2 separate regions of the Homo sapiens genome follow, and region 1 is linked to region 2. Evidence: promoter capture Hi-C in 16 types of primary human blood cells and fetal thymus (Javierre and others, 2016). All regions are on one chromosome and are shown on one strand. Each heading gives the region's core, a stretch centred on a gene start or on the middle of the fragment in contact. The rest is flanking DNA. Distances are from core to core; before and after follow the strand shown.

Region 1 (3,046 bases), core at 73-2,572, 270 kb before region 2:
GAGAGAGACACGTGAGGGCAGACAGTCACGTGGGGACCTACATTGGACTAAAAGAGGGCTTTTTCTCAACAGACAAAGCCATGCAGTTTTCTGAGGCCTCCTTTACCTGGGAACATGATTCGGAAGCCACAGTCCGAGAGTGAGTTGCCTTCTTTCCATCCTAATGTTCTTTAGCATTCTCACTGCCTGGCCTATTCTCAGAAAATTCCATGTAATAGAATGCATGGGGAAATGAGCTATGTGCATGTCTTCGGTTAGATACTAGTGCAGGATAAACCCCTGGAGAGATGAGCTGAAAGCAAAGGTTCTCAGCCCCTTCCCCTGATAACTGCATTTGCCATGCTGCTTTCCTACTATGGGGCCATGAATATCCAGCTGTGATCCCATGAAGACATTTGTGTGTGCAGATTGTGGATGGAGGTAGTGCAGCGTTGGCAGGTGGCCGGCGTCTCTGGGTATGGTAGAAGACAAACCCAAGAACCTGAATTCAGTATAAGTTCATTCATTCAAGAATAGCAATCAGGAACATTGGAATCTGGCTTCTCAGTGTGTATCTTCTGCACATAGTGTGTCTCTTAAGCACCATGTGTAATAGCACACCCAATTCATCCACTGAGCACAGCACACAGAGTACACCAGGAGGCTGAATAGGCCATATCTTTGTTTCTTCACAACTGAGCACATCTTACTGTCTCCTTACTATACTCCTGACTTCCCACTCCTCTATCTTGTTCCTACAGCCTTTAACATGGACTCCAGAGCTAGCCCCAGGATGAGTTGGGGCAGGAGCACATGCTCTGAACCTTCCTAACCCAGCAGTTTCCCTTTCCAGAGAGGAAACTGGGCAGGGCTTCCACTTCACTGTTATAGGTCTGGAAGAAATTCACCTCAATGCGCAGATTCAGAAAGACTGTGAACAAGTTCCTAATGTTCCTAATGTTCTAGAAACTCAAATAACAGGGCTGGCACACACAGTTTCCGGGAACCTATCCCATTGTGGGCCCCTACTCAGCCAGATACAGTCAAATATTTAGGAGAAGGGCCAGGGAATCTACTTTCAGCAAATGTTCCAGGTGACACATTTAGTACCTAATTTGGGAAATGTTAATCTAGTCCAATCCCATTAGTAAGAAAGGAGGGGTCCTTAGTCCAAAGGAAGTGACCTTCCAAGATAACATAGACCAGCAGTGTCAGGGTTGGGACTTGAACCAAGCCAGGTCTCCAGGCCCCCACTAGGGTCTTGTTCAATGGGTAACCATGTTAGTTCTAGGAGAATTTTATCATTGGAAATGCACATTTGTCACAAACAGCTTATAGATGAGTTGGATAAATTAGGGCTCATTAGGGCTCATTCTCTAGCCTTTTAGAGCTAAGAAAAGAAAAAGAAAAAGTATTAAAGAAGCACTTTGGGGTCTTGTATATCCAAGGCAAATTTTCCAATCTTGAGGGGAAATCTCCTGATACCAGACTTCATGGAGACTCAGAGAAGTGACTTGAACTACTCTTCAATACCCAACCCCTGCTATCTCCTTCAAAGACATTCCTGTCTTTCAGTGTGAACCTGGACATTATGGCAGGCCAACTTGTGGCTGTGATAGGCCCTGTCGGCTCTGGGAAATCCTCCTTGATATCAGCCATGCTGGGAGAAATGGAAAATGTCCACGGGCACATCACCATCAAGGTGAGAGGGAATGCCAATGCAAAAGCCTCTGACTCCCGAATGTCAGCAGCTTCGTGCTTTTGCCTCACTGGGGAGAAGGCACTGAGGGCTAGTAGGTGAGGTCTTGGAGACATCCGATAGATTTGTGGACTGTGATTCTCCTTCCCATTTCAGCTTTATATAATCAGTTGCTGGGGGTAAGATTTGGGAATCTGCATTTTTAATGAGCTCTAAAGGTGATTCTCATACGCATACTACAGTGTGAAAACTGCTGATTAGAGAGGTCTTCCTTCAAAATATAGGCATTTCTGGCCAGGCACGGTGGCTCACGCCTATAATCCCAGCACTTTGAGAGGCCGAGGCAGGCAGATCACCTGAGGTCAGGAGTTCGAGACCAGCCTGGTCAACATGGTGAAACTCTGTCTCTACTAAAAATACAAAATTAGCCGGGTGTGGTGGCATGTGCCTGTTATCCCAGCTACTTGGGAGGCTGAGGCATGAGAATCACTTGGGCCCAGGAGGGCTGCAGTGAGCCAAGATCATGCCACTGCACTCCAGCCTGAGTGACAGAGAGAGACTCTGTCTCAAAAAAAAAAAAGTATAGGCATTTCTGCTTTATCTATGTATTTGTTTCTGAAAAATCATGCATCCTGCAAAACTGTACAATAAAAATAACAGGACCTAGGGGAAAAGAATTGTAATAGATCACTAAAAACTTATATAACTTTGTAACCAAACTACCAACAGAAACAATACCAACCATAACAGTAATATCAAGAGCAATAAAAACAGTAGATTGTACAATCATCACTGGCATTTGCACCCAACATTGCAATTACTCTTGGGCCTTTCTCTTCCTCCTTTGAGAGCTAAATCTTTGATGGCATTTGCTTCCAAAATAAAAATCTGGTGTAGGGTGTTGTCTTCTTCATCAATTTTGTATATATATATGTGTATGTGTATATACACATATATATACACACATATGTGTATATACACACATATGTGTGTATATATACACACATGTATGTATACACACGTATATATACACACATGTATGTATACACACATGTGTATATATACACACATGTGTATATATACACACATGTGTATATATGCACACACGTATGTATACACACGTATGTATACACACGTATGTATACACACACGTATGTATACACACATGTATATACACACGTATGTATACACACATGTATATATACACACGTATGTATACACACATGTATATATACACATATATACATATATGGGTATATATACACACGTGTATATATGTGTGCATATATGTGTATACACACATATGTGTGTATATACATACACACATATGTGTGTATATACATACACACAAACATATATGTGTGTGTA
Region 2 (3,075 bases), core at 438-2,937:
AAGCGAAGAGGTAAAGGGAGATTTGAAGTTGAGTTTGAAGGAGGAACTGGTAAGGAAAGAAGTGAGAAATTAGAAACAACTTAAATGTCCATCAATATATGGACAGTTAAACATAGTCATGCAATGAGCTATTACACAGCCAAAACCACAGTGATGTAGATCTGCACTTATAGACATGGATGCTATCCATAACAGATTGTGAAATGAGAAGGGCAGTTATAATACAATTTCATTTTTATAGAAACAATTACATGTGTTTGAGTCAGGGTTTAAATATGCATAGAAAAAAGTCTGGAAGGATATACATCAATACATTAACAGTGGTGGGATTTGGGGTGAGTTTTATTATTTTTTTTCCTTATCTAATCTCTAAATTTTAATCCAAACATGGATTGCTTTTACAGTAGAAACAAACTAAAAAAAGGAATCCAGGCTAAGTGCGGTGGCTCACGCCTGTAATCCCAACACTGGGAGGCCAAGGTGGGTGGATCGCCTGAGCCCAGGAGTTTGAGATTAGCCTGGTTAACATGATGAAACCCTGTCTCTACTAAAAATACAAAAATTAGCCGGGCGTATTGGTGCATGCCTGTGGTCCCAGCTACCTAGGAGGCTGAGGGGAAAGGATCACCTGAGCCCAGGAGGTGGAGGCTGCAGTGAGCTGAGATCATGCCACTGCATTCCAGCCTGGGCAACAGAGCCAGACCCCGTCTCAAAAAAATAAAAAATAAAAAAGAATCCAGTAAATAAAACTGACACCCAAGTCCCCAAACTCTCTCTGGAATACCACACTGTCACTCCCCGAAGAGATTCCCCTATACCCTTCTAAGTTTCCTGGCAGAACTAGAAGGGCTCATTGTTTTTGCCTATGTCTCCTGAGCCATTGGGTGGGGAAAGACAGAACAATAGTAAGGGGAAAAGAAAGGAAATGGGGGAAATGAAGGGATATGGGACATGAGCAGGGAAGAAGACTCATCTTTTACCATTAAAGTTTTGAGCAAACAGAACCCAAAAAGGAGGAAAGATCTGAAGGCTGAAGGAGGGTTATAGCTCCCCAGAGGCAGTGGCAGTTTGAGGGCTAAGAGGGAAATAGCACAGGCTGAGAAAGAGATAATACCTTGTAGGCGGAGGCGTCCACGGACCACCCCAGAAACCACTCCAATTACTGGATTTGCAAGGGAAAGGCCCTGCCCCACACACCCTCAAGAGCTGTTCAGAACTTACAGGGCTCGTGGATTCCAGGGTGGTCGCTGAACTCCAGCACGTAGAGGTGTCTCCCCTCCACGCTGCGCCCAATGCTGTAGACCCGCGTGATGCCGGGGCATTCGTTTTGCACCTTGTACAGCGTCCGCACAAGATCATCATAGCGGTGGTGGCGAAAGGTCACCGGGGCAACCAACTTGAAGAGAAGGAGGAGGTGGAGGAAGACTGAGAGCAGGTCTGACATCTTGCTGGGCTTTTTCAAAGAGAGCCACTGAAACGCGCCCCACCTCCTTAAACAACCTAGCCTCTTCACCCGCCAAAATCCAAGGTCCACCTAGCTTCCCGCTTGTAAACACCAGTCCAAATTGGAAGACGTTCCCAGCTGTCCGTCCAAGGCTGGAAATTCTTTATGTCGTTCTGGAATAGCCACTCATCTCTCCTCCCTCACTCCCTTTCTTTCTCTAATCCAGGAAAGCCTTTTGAAAGGTTTTTTGCACTTCCCCAGATGGGTAGTTTCACTGATTCTGGTTTACTGGTTAACTGGACTGTAAACAGGCTTCAATAAATAGCTGCTTATAACCCTTTGATTCCTGGAGAATTTTTTAAAACTTGGCCTGTGCCTGTTCCTTTTATTACAACTTTCAAAAAGAGTTCTCTGTCCCTTTTGATCCATCCCACGTACTGCTGCCTGCCTATCTTTCTGAAGCATGGCTGTATTTTGTCCTTTTTTTCCTCAAAAATCTTTCAACAGATGCCATTAAGAAAAGGAAAAGATTAGCCTCGGACTGGGAGAAAACAATTGTAAATCATGTATCCGATAATACCCCCATAATACGTAAAGAATCCTTACAATACAATAAGAAAACAAACAACCCAATTAAAACATGGGCAAAACATTTGACCAAAATAGATATACAAATGGCTAATAAGCACATTTAAAGATGTTCAGTGTCATTAGTCATTAAGGAAATACAAATTAAAACCACATGAGATCCAGTCATGGTGGCTCATGCCTATAATCTCAGCACTTTGGGAGGCCAAATTGGGAGGATCACTTGAGCCCAGGAGTTTGAGATCAGCCTGGGCAACATAGCAAGACCCCACCTCTACAAATATTTTTAAAATTAGCTGGGTGTGATGGCATGCCTGTAGTTCCAGCTACTAGGGAGGCTGAGGCAGAGAATCACTTGAACCTGGGTGGTGGGGCCTGAAGTGAGCCATGATCATGCCACTACACTCCAGCCTGGGCAACAGAGTGAGACCTCATCTCAAAAAACAAACAAACAAAAATCACACATGAAATATACTTTACCTCCACTAGAATGGCTACAATAAAAAAGACAGACAATAACAAATGTTGGTGAGAATAGGGAGAAACTGGAACCCTCATAAATAGTGCAGCCAGACCAGGTGCAGTGGCTCATGCCTGTAGCCCAGGACTTTGAGAGGCCGAGGCAGGTGGATCACGAGGTCAAGAGATCGAGATCATCCTGGCAAACATGGCAAAACCCCCTCTCTACTAAAAATACAAAAATTAGCTGGGCATGGTGGCACACGCCTGTAGTCCCAGCTACTCAGGAGTCTGAGGCAGGAGAATTGCTTGAACCTGAGAGGAGGAGGTTGCAGTGAGCTGAGATCACGCCACTGCACTCCAGCTTGGTGACAGAGCGAGACTCCATCTCAAAAAAAATAAAAAATAAAGATAAACAAATAAATAGTACAGCCAGTTTGGAAAACAGTTTAGCAGTTTCTTACAAGGTTAAATATATACTTACTATATAATACAACAGTTTCACTCCTAGGTACCTATGCAAGAGAAATGAAAACACACATCCACACAAAAACTTGTACATAAATGTCCATAGCAGTATTGTT

The links. Contacts are between HindIII fragments. The CHiCAGO score rates a contact against its expected background, and 5 or more counts as called.
Region 1: a contact is called between a fragment that was not itself captured here and the fragment with the promoter of CPN1 in region 2, in 1 of 17 cell types (neutrophils). The highest score is 6.1, in neutrophils.

Annotation. Positions count from the first base shown.
Region 1 is chr10:99,811,464-99,814,509 of GRCh38, forward strand. It overlaps ABCC2 (ATP binding cassette subfamily C member 2), which reads left to right. Exons shown (of 32, transcript NM_000392.5): 15 at 73-139; 16 at 1,555-1,681. Among named protein-coding and RNA genes, the nearest start is that of ABCC2, 30 kb to the left of the region's middle. The HindIII fragment of the contact is 6,218 bases long and covers 1-3,046 here.
Region 2 is chr10:100,080,182-100,083,256 of GRCh38, forward strand. It overlaps CPN1 (carboxypeptidase N subunit 1), which reads right to left and starts at 1,688. Exons shown (of 9, transcript NM_001308.3): 1 at 1,222-1,688. The coding sequence starts at 1,444. The HindIII fragment of the contact is 7,883 bases long and covers 1-3,075 here.